Regions from separate parts of the Homo sapiens genome. Here region 1 is linked to region 2. The links are contacts of gene promoters, found by promoter capture Hi-C in blood cells and fetal thymus (Javierre and others, 2016). All regions are on one chromosome and are shown on one strand. Each heading gives the region's core, a stretch centred on a gene start or on the middle of the fragment in contact. The rest is flanking DNA. Distances are from core to core; before and after follow the strand shown. Region 1 has its middle 120 kb from the start of SNORD3F. Region 2 holds the start of REEP4 (receptor accessory protein 4).

Region 1 (3,149 bases), core at 639-3,138, 1.6 Mb before region 2:
AGCAAGTGCTTTGGATTTAAAAGTCTAGGTTTAAGTCTTAGATCCTCACCTTACTTAAGTTGCGCGACCTTGGGTAAGCCATTGAACATGTCTCAGGGTCAATTTCCTCACCATTAAATATGGGACAATAGCAACTACTACACTAGCTTGTCACGAGGAGTAAATATGATAACTAGGTTAAACTCCCAGCACAGACCCAGGCATACTTTAGTTTGCTCAACAAGCATTGGCGATTGGATTCCTTCACAACCTTAATATGATCTAACCAGAGAGCCATTCAATGCACAATTATTGAAAGCCTGTGATGCACATGTACCTGCAAGGGATAGTAAGGTGCAGGAGTTACAGCTCCCCCAAGGATGATAACAGTTGCCTTGCAGCTTTCCCAACCTCCTCAGTGTGCAGGCCCCTCCCCACCTCTCCCTCCTGGTATCTCTACTGCACAGACCCATGCTCCATCTGAACACCAATCTCTTAGGCATTGCTATTTACATCTTCCTACATATCAGTTATGCCTCTCCATGTCAATTGTGAGCTGCTTGAGGGGAGAGACTTCCATATTCTTCCCTGTCCCCATACAACAGTTAACACAGGCACATGCCCTGTGCTCTCTAAGTAATTGCTAAATAAATACATTTTAAAGGAATGTTTGTGATCCTTGATAACACCGAGCAGTTTTCATTTTGCAGGCTGACACCTGTTGGAACCATAACATCAATTTTGCGGGCTGTGACATCAAAATGCCCCTAGTACGCATGAGTATTATTTGCTGAAACTTTCGTTTTTGTCTTAAATGCCTGTCACAGGCTGGGTTGTGGTTTAAAAATAAGTTTCTTACTTTTGATCATGGTTTGAAAAAAGAAAAAAAACAGTGACAGGATGCGTATGACAAGGCTCCTAGCTTGGATGCTGAGCCCCTTGTGGGCAGAATCAAAGACATTGGGCACCAAGACCTCCCAGCTGGAGAGGAAGCAACTGGTTTCAGAAAAGCTCTCCTGGGGTTGGGGCGGATTAGAAGACAGGCAGTCAAGAGAAGAAATGCTCAGGGGCCTGAGCACAGTCGCTCAAACTGCTTATTGTCTGGGCAACAAATAGGCACTGCAGGCGCACCTAAAAACCTCAAGTGTCTTTCCTTCAGAAAGACACAAAGCACTTAAGACCCTGCAATTGCTCAAGATTTTCCTCTAGGGATCCTTGTTTTCTCTAGAGCTTTAGATTGTAATAGAAACACCGTTGCCTTCATTCTTTTCTCACTTATTAAGCTGAAAAAGTAATCTGGAATCTTTAGCCTTTGGAGATTTGGCGATAATTTCTTGATGCAAAATTTGTATAGACAGCTTGACCATGATTGAAAGACCACATGAAAAAATCCTTGAAATTGAAATTGAAATCCTTGAAACTCAAAATTCTAGGACTGGAAATTCTTATCACCTATAGATGCTTTGAGGTTGAATTCAAAGTGTCATTGACCCAGGCACTGTTGGGAGTAGGAAGCCTTTTTTCTTAGGGAATTTGAGCCTCAACCTCTGTCTGCACTTTGCAGCATTGGCTGTGATGGGGCTTGTCTTGGCTGTGATGGGGCTTGTCTTCTGGTTCCATGTTCTGGACAAATGCTTCCACCTTTCTTTCTGGAACGCCTGCCTAATGTCTGGCTGTCTGCTGTTTGTACTCTGAAAACTACTTTAATTGGGAAGGTAAAATACAGTCTCAAATGCCCTTTTTGTGCCTTGTGAAAGCCCTCTAAAGCTTAGCTTAACTCAAAGAGCTTAAATCAATAGCACCGGCCCATTTTCTAATCACAGGGAATTTAATAATGATCAGGAAAGCCATTATCAGTCTGATCTGTGGGACTGTTTGGACTTTAACTCTTGGAAAACAGCTTCCTGTCAAACTTACATACTGTTATCATATAAAATGTCACTGAGAAGGGTATTAAAATCCCTCTTTGGAGAGAAAGCCTTATAGGGGTTCTATCAAAACTACTCTGTATGCTGATGAGTTAGGTGCTAGGAGAGAGAGAGAGCTAAAAACAAGCTTGGAGGTGGAAAGGAGGGAATTGTTCTCTTTTTGCCACAGCACACCCAAATGGAGAAGGGGAGGCTTCTTGGTGTCTGGGTCTGTAATTCAAGAAGTCCCTTGAGACACCTCAGCCCAGGGGCTGGAAAGTTCACGTCTATCCGCTGAGGCCTGGGAAGCCTGTTGGGGCCCCTGAAGGGAAGGGTGAGAGGAGAGCAGCCATGTCGCTCCATGGCTCCTGGCAGAAGTGTGAGGCTCCTGGACTCTGGTGACTTAGCCCCATTTACCATCACAGAGACATATAATACAGGCATTTGCCTACTTAGATCCCAGCCATGTGAGTTTTGGAAGTCTGCTGAGGTGAATTTCAACCCTGGTTACCATAATGCAGTTGGGCCTTTTGTGAGTTGAATGTGATGTTGTTGTTTTTAGGGATTAAATGTTCAGAGAGAACCACTGACTTGGGGTTAGATGGTTGGCCTTTAACAAAACCCTAAAGGAACAGGGTGTGAACAGTTACATAACAAAAGATAAGAGGAACTACTTGAAAAGCTGAGTTGGCCAGCATGGTGGCTTATGCCTCTAATCAGCACTTTGGGAGGCTAAGGTATAAAGAGCACTTGAGCCCAGGAGTTCGAGACAAGCCTGGACAACATAGTGAGACCCCTCATCTCTATAAAAAAATGTTAAAAAAATAGCTTGGTGTGGTGACACGTGCCTGTATTCCCAGCTATTCACAAGGCTGAGGTGGGAGGATTGCTTGAGCCCAAGAGGTTAAGGGTTGGCCAACTCTCTGCACCTGGGTTCTTCCAGCAGCCAAAGACTTGTAGAGAAGAGAAATGAGTGCATGTGGGCTCCGGGGGGCACATTCCTCCATTGTGTGCTCACATCAGACAGTCTCCACGATCCCAGCCAGCTCCTGGGGCTGTGACCTCCTGGGGTCCAGAGTCTTTCCTGAGCCACTGCCATGAAGCCAAAGTCCCCAGAGTGAAGCTGCCTGCACTGTGTCCTATGTCACCAGCCCTGGTTGCCCTACTTGACACAAATGGAGACCCCATCTCCATCTGACTTGTTTAAGGTCTTAAGTCTAAAACCTCAGCATCTTCACAACTCCACTTGCCTTATCCCTCCCC
Region 2 (2,947 bases), core at 216-2,715:
TTCCACAGGCACCCCGATGGCCTGCCCTCTATCTACACCCTCTTGAACAGGGCCCATTCTCTCTCCCTCCCCACTCCACTCAGGATGTGCCACACAGCCTTGCCCCTGGAGGAGGGAGAGGCCAACTGAGACCCTCCCCACCTCACCAAGTCCTATTAAACACACCCAAACCCCCACGCTCACATATTCACGAATGTTCTTGGTCTTCACAGCCTTATAGGAAGCATAAGCTGGACACAGCATCCCAAACACCAGCCTGGAAGAGCAGCCATGGGGAGTGTGAGGGGCACCATGCCCCACTCCCACCTTGCCAAGTGGCCATTTCCCCCCACTGGGGTGCAAGGTGGCAGTACCCGCCCTGTTTTTCTCGCTTGGCTTGTACAACCCGTGCCTGAGTCAGAGCCCTGGAGGCCACCTCCCCACCCTGCTGTTTACAAACATCCCAAGCCTGCCCAGGCCTGCACCGGTGGCCCATGGGTGCATGATGGAGTGAGAGGACAGCCACTCCACGAAGTGGGTGAGAACACCAGACTGTCCCCTCCCATGGGCATGCAATCAGGCCCAGGGTCACCAGACCTGACACTGCTGGGTTGCAGATAGGGCTATGTGAGCCAGATGTTGGCATACTCAAAGGTGAGGAATAGGATGGTGAGTCATGTGACTGCTCAGATGGCAAGCAGGCACCTGGATTCTCCGCCCACAACGTGCCATATCACCTTGTGTTTGCCAAGGGGCAGCAAGGTAGGCCTGTGGCCCTCGGCTCCACGCATCTGTTTGCAGTGTGTGTGGCGTGCGGCAGGGGTCGTTCTCAGCCAACGAGGCTTGGTGGGGCGGGTAGCCTGCGGTGCCCCAGACACCGCGTGCAAGCCCACAGGTCCGTTAACCCTTGCATGGAGTGCTGGAGGGTGGAGCTCAGAAAGTTCCTCCTCCCACTAGACGTCCACAGCTTCCACCACAGGGGCGGGACGGCACCCCGGGGTAGAGGAGGTCTGAGGGCGGCCATACTCACACCACCAGGCGACAGATCATCCAGGACACCATCTTGCCGGCCTTTGGGACGTGGGGAGGACCCCAGGAAGCCGCTCAGAAGGACGTTCACTCAAGGGCTGGGACGGGGGGTGATCAGGGCAGTTGCGGGAAGCAGAGGGGCGATCCGGCTGTCCCTCGGCGGAGGCAGAGCCCGCCGCCCACGGCCTCCGACTGTGCAGTTCAGGGGACCTGGAGAATGGGGAGACCCGAGGCAAAGCGGCCCCGGCGGGGAGGAAGCCGACTTGGGAGCGGGCGCGCCCCGCGGCCGGGGCAGTTACAGCTCCCACCCGCCCTTTCTGCCGCGGAGAACCTGGCGCTCGGCCCTTGCTGCTGGTCCCGCGCTGGAGCGGGTCGCCGCGGTTCCAGCGCGCCGGGCCACCAGCACCGGCCTACAGGGCGGAGTTCGCAACTCACTTGAAAGTTGCACGGAACCGAGTGCTGCCCAACCCCAGGGCTCCGGCTTGCCACGCAGGCGCAGTGTAGCCCCGGAGGGGGCGGGGCGAGGTCAGGGAGGCGAGAGGCCGGCCCCTTAAAGGGGCGATGTGCCGCGGGACTCGCGCGTGGGGCCCACAGTGGAGCCACCTTCCCAATCGGAAAGATTAGCGTGTGGGAAGCTGTAACAAAAAAGCAGGGGGAGTGCGGGGGTCGGCACACAAAGAAAATCTGGACTCCAGAGTTTAAGCGACCCTTCACTGGCTTTTCCCGGTGTCTTTCCCTCTCGCCTCATTTTCCCCTCTGTGAACCGGGTAAAGGCATGAGATGCGGTTGGTGGGGTAGAGGGAAGGATCTCCTCTGCAGGCTCAGTCAGGAGCTGGAAGGAAGCTTGGCTGAGCGCCAGCAAGTCCGGGTCTCACACCAGTGGGTCCAGGAGGGAAAGGGGGGAGGTGTGGGGGGAGAGGGAACCTGAGGGACTTTTTGCCCCACCAGGTTTCAGGGGTTCCCTTCTCTCTGGGATGCCTTTCCAGATCCCTGACTCCGGGGCAGGCTGACCGCGATGATTTGAGGCATTCTGGGTAGAGCTCTCAGCTCCCACACTCCTTCAGCAGAAGTTTGAAATTCCACCTATTCCTCTGAGCCAAGTACACAAATAACCCTGGGCCCTTAATAGTAGTATCAACCATTGCCATTTTGTAATGCACGTTTGCACGCAAGGTCTTAGTCTTTGCAAACTTCTTTTAACCATGTAGGAAATAGGATGCTCAGTGGTGAAAAGTAACTTTCCTGGTATCACCCAGTGGTATTTATTGCTGGCTGGTGGCTACATGCTTGGCTTGATCAGTCTTCTGAGAGATCAGCAGCTGCAGGCTGAGTGGCCCTGCAGAGGGCCATGGAACCGGATAAGTTCCTCTGGGAGGGAGGCAGATGCCAGGAAGAAGGGGGAAGGCTCTAAAAAAGAAGGCAAACGTTGCTGCTTCTACTACTTGCCCTGTGAGGTTTCATTCTTTTTGACATCTTCAGCTTACTGCCTCTGTTGTTCCCTCTGAAAATAGTGTCCCCCCACCTTGCAGAGGGTGGGAGCAAAGCTGTCCGGGCATGTGGGGTGGAAACACAGGCAGTTACTGCTTTTTATTGGAGCCACAGTTAACCCCCACCAGCTATCATAAGGATGGAATAGGTAATCATGGGGCCAGGGAAAGGAGGCTTCTGGGGGATAAATAAACACACGGTGATTATATGGTCTTAATTACTGTCATCAGTTTTATTGGTATTGCTGGGTGTGAGAGCCAGCAGTGAAACCAGCCCACAGGAGAAACTTCCCCGAGGCCCCATGTCTCCCTCTCCTCTCTTAACCAACCCTCACATTTACCTGTCCCCCCTTACACACACACATTGGAGTAACCAAAAAGGCCAAGGGCTAGAGGAACTCCTAAGGAAGGCCCCAGCCACTGTCCATCTTTAGGCACAGACATGGTTCTCT

What was found. Contacts are between HindIII fragments. The CHiCAGO score rates a contact against its expected background, and 5 or more counts as called.
Region 1: a fragment that was not itself captured here is called in contact with the fragment with the promoter of REEP4 in region 2 in 5 of 17 cell types (naive CD4 T cells, naive CD8 T cells, non-activated CD4 T cells and 2 more); the score reaches 8.6 in naive CD4 T cells.

The regions. Positions count from the first base shown.
Region 1 is chr8:20,492,545-20,495,693 of GRCh38, forward strand. No RefSeq gene overlaps it. Among named protein-coding and RNA genes, the nearest start is that of SNORD3F, 120 kb to the right of the region's middle. RefSeq lists an enhancer at 812-1,350. The HindIII fragment of the contact is 288 bases long and covers 1,745-2,032 here.
Region 2 is chr8:22,140,442-22,143,388 of GRCh38, forward strand. REEP4 (receptor accessory protein 4) reads right to left here and starts at 1,466. Exons shown (of 8, transcript NM_025232.4): 1 at 1,010-1,466; 2 at 184-256. The coding sequence starts at 1,041. RefSeq lists an enhancer at 1-455 and silencers at 1,220-1,369, 1,380-1,509. The HindIII fragment of the contact is 1,867 bases long and covers 1-1,849 here.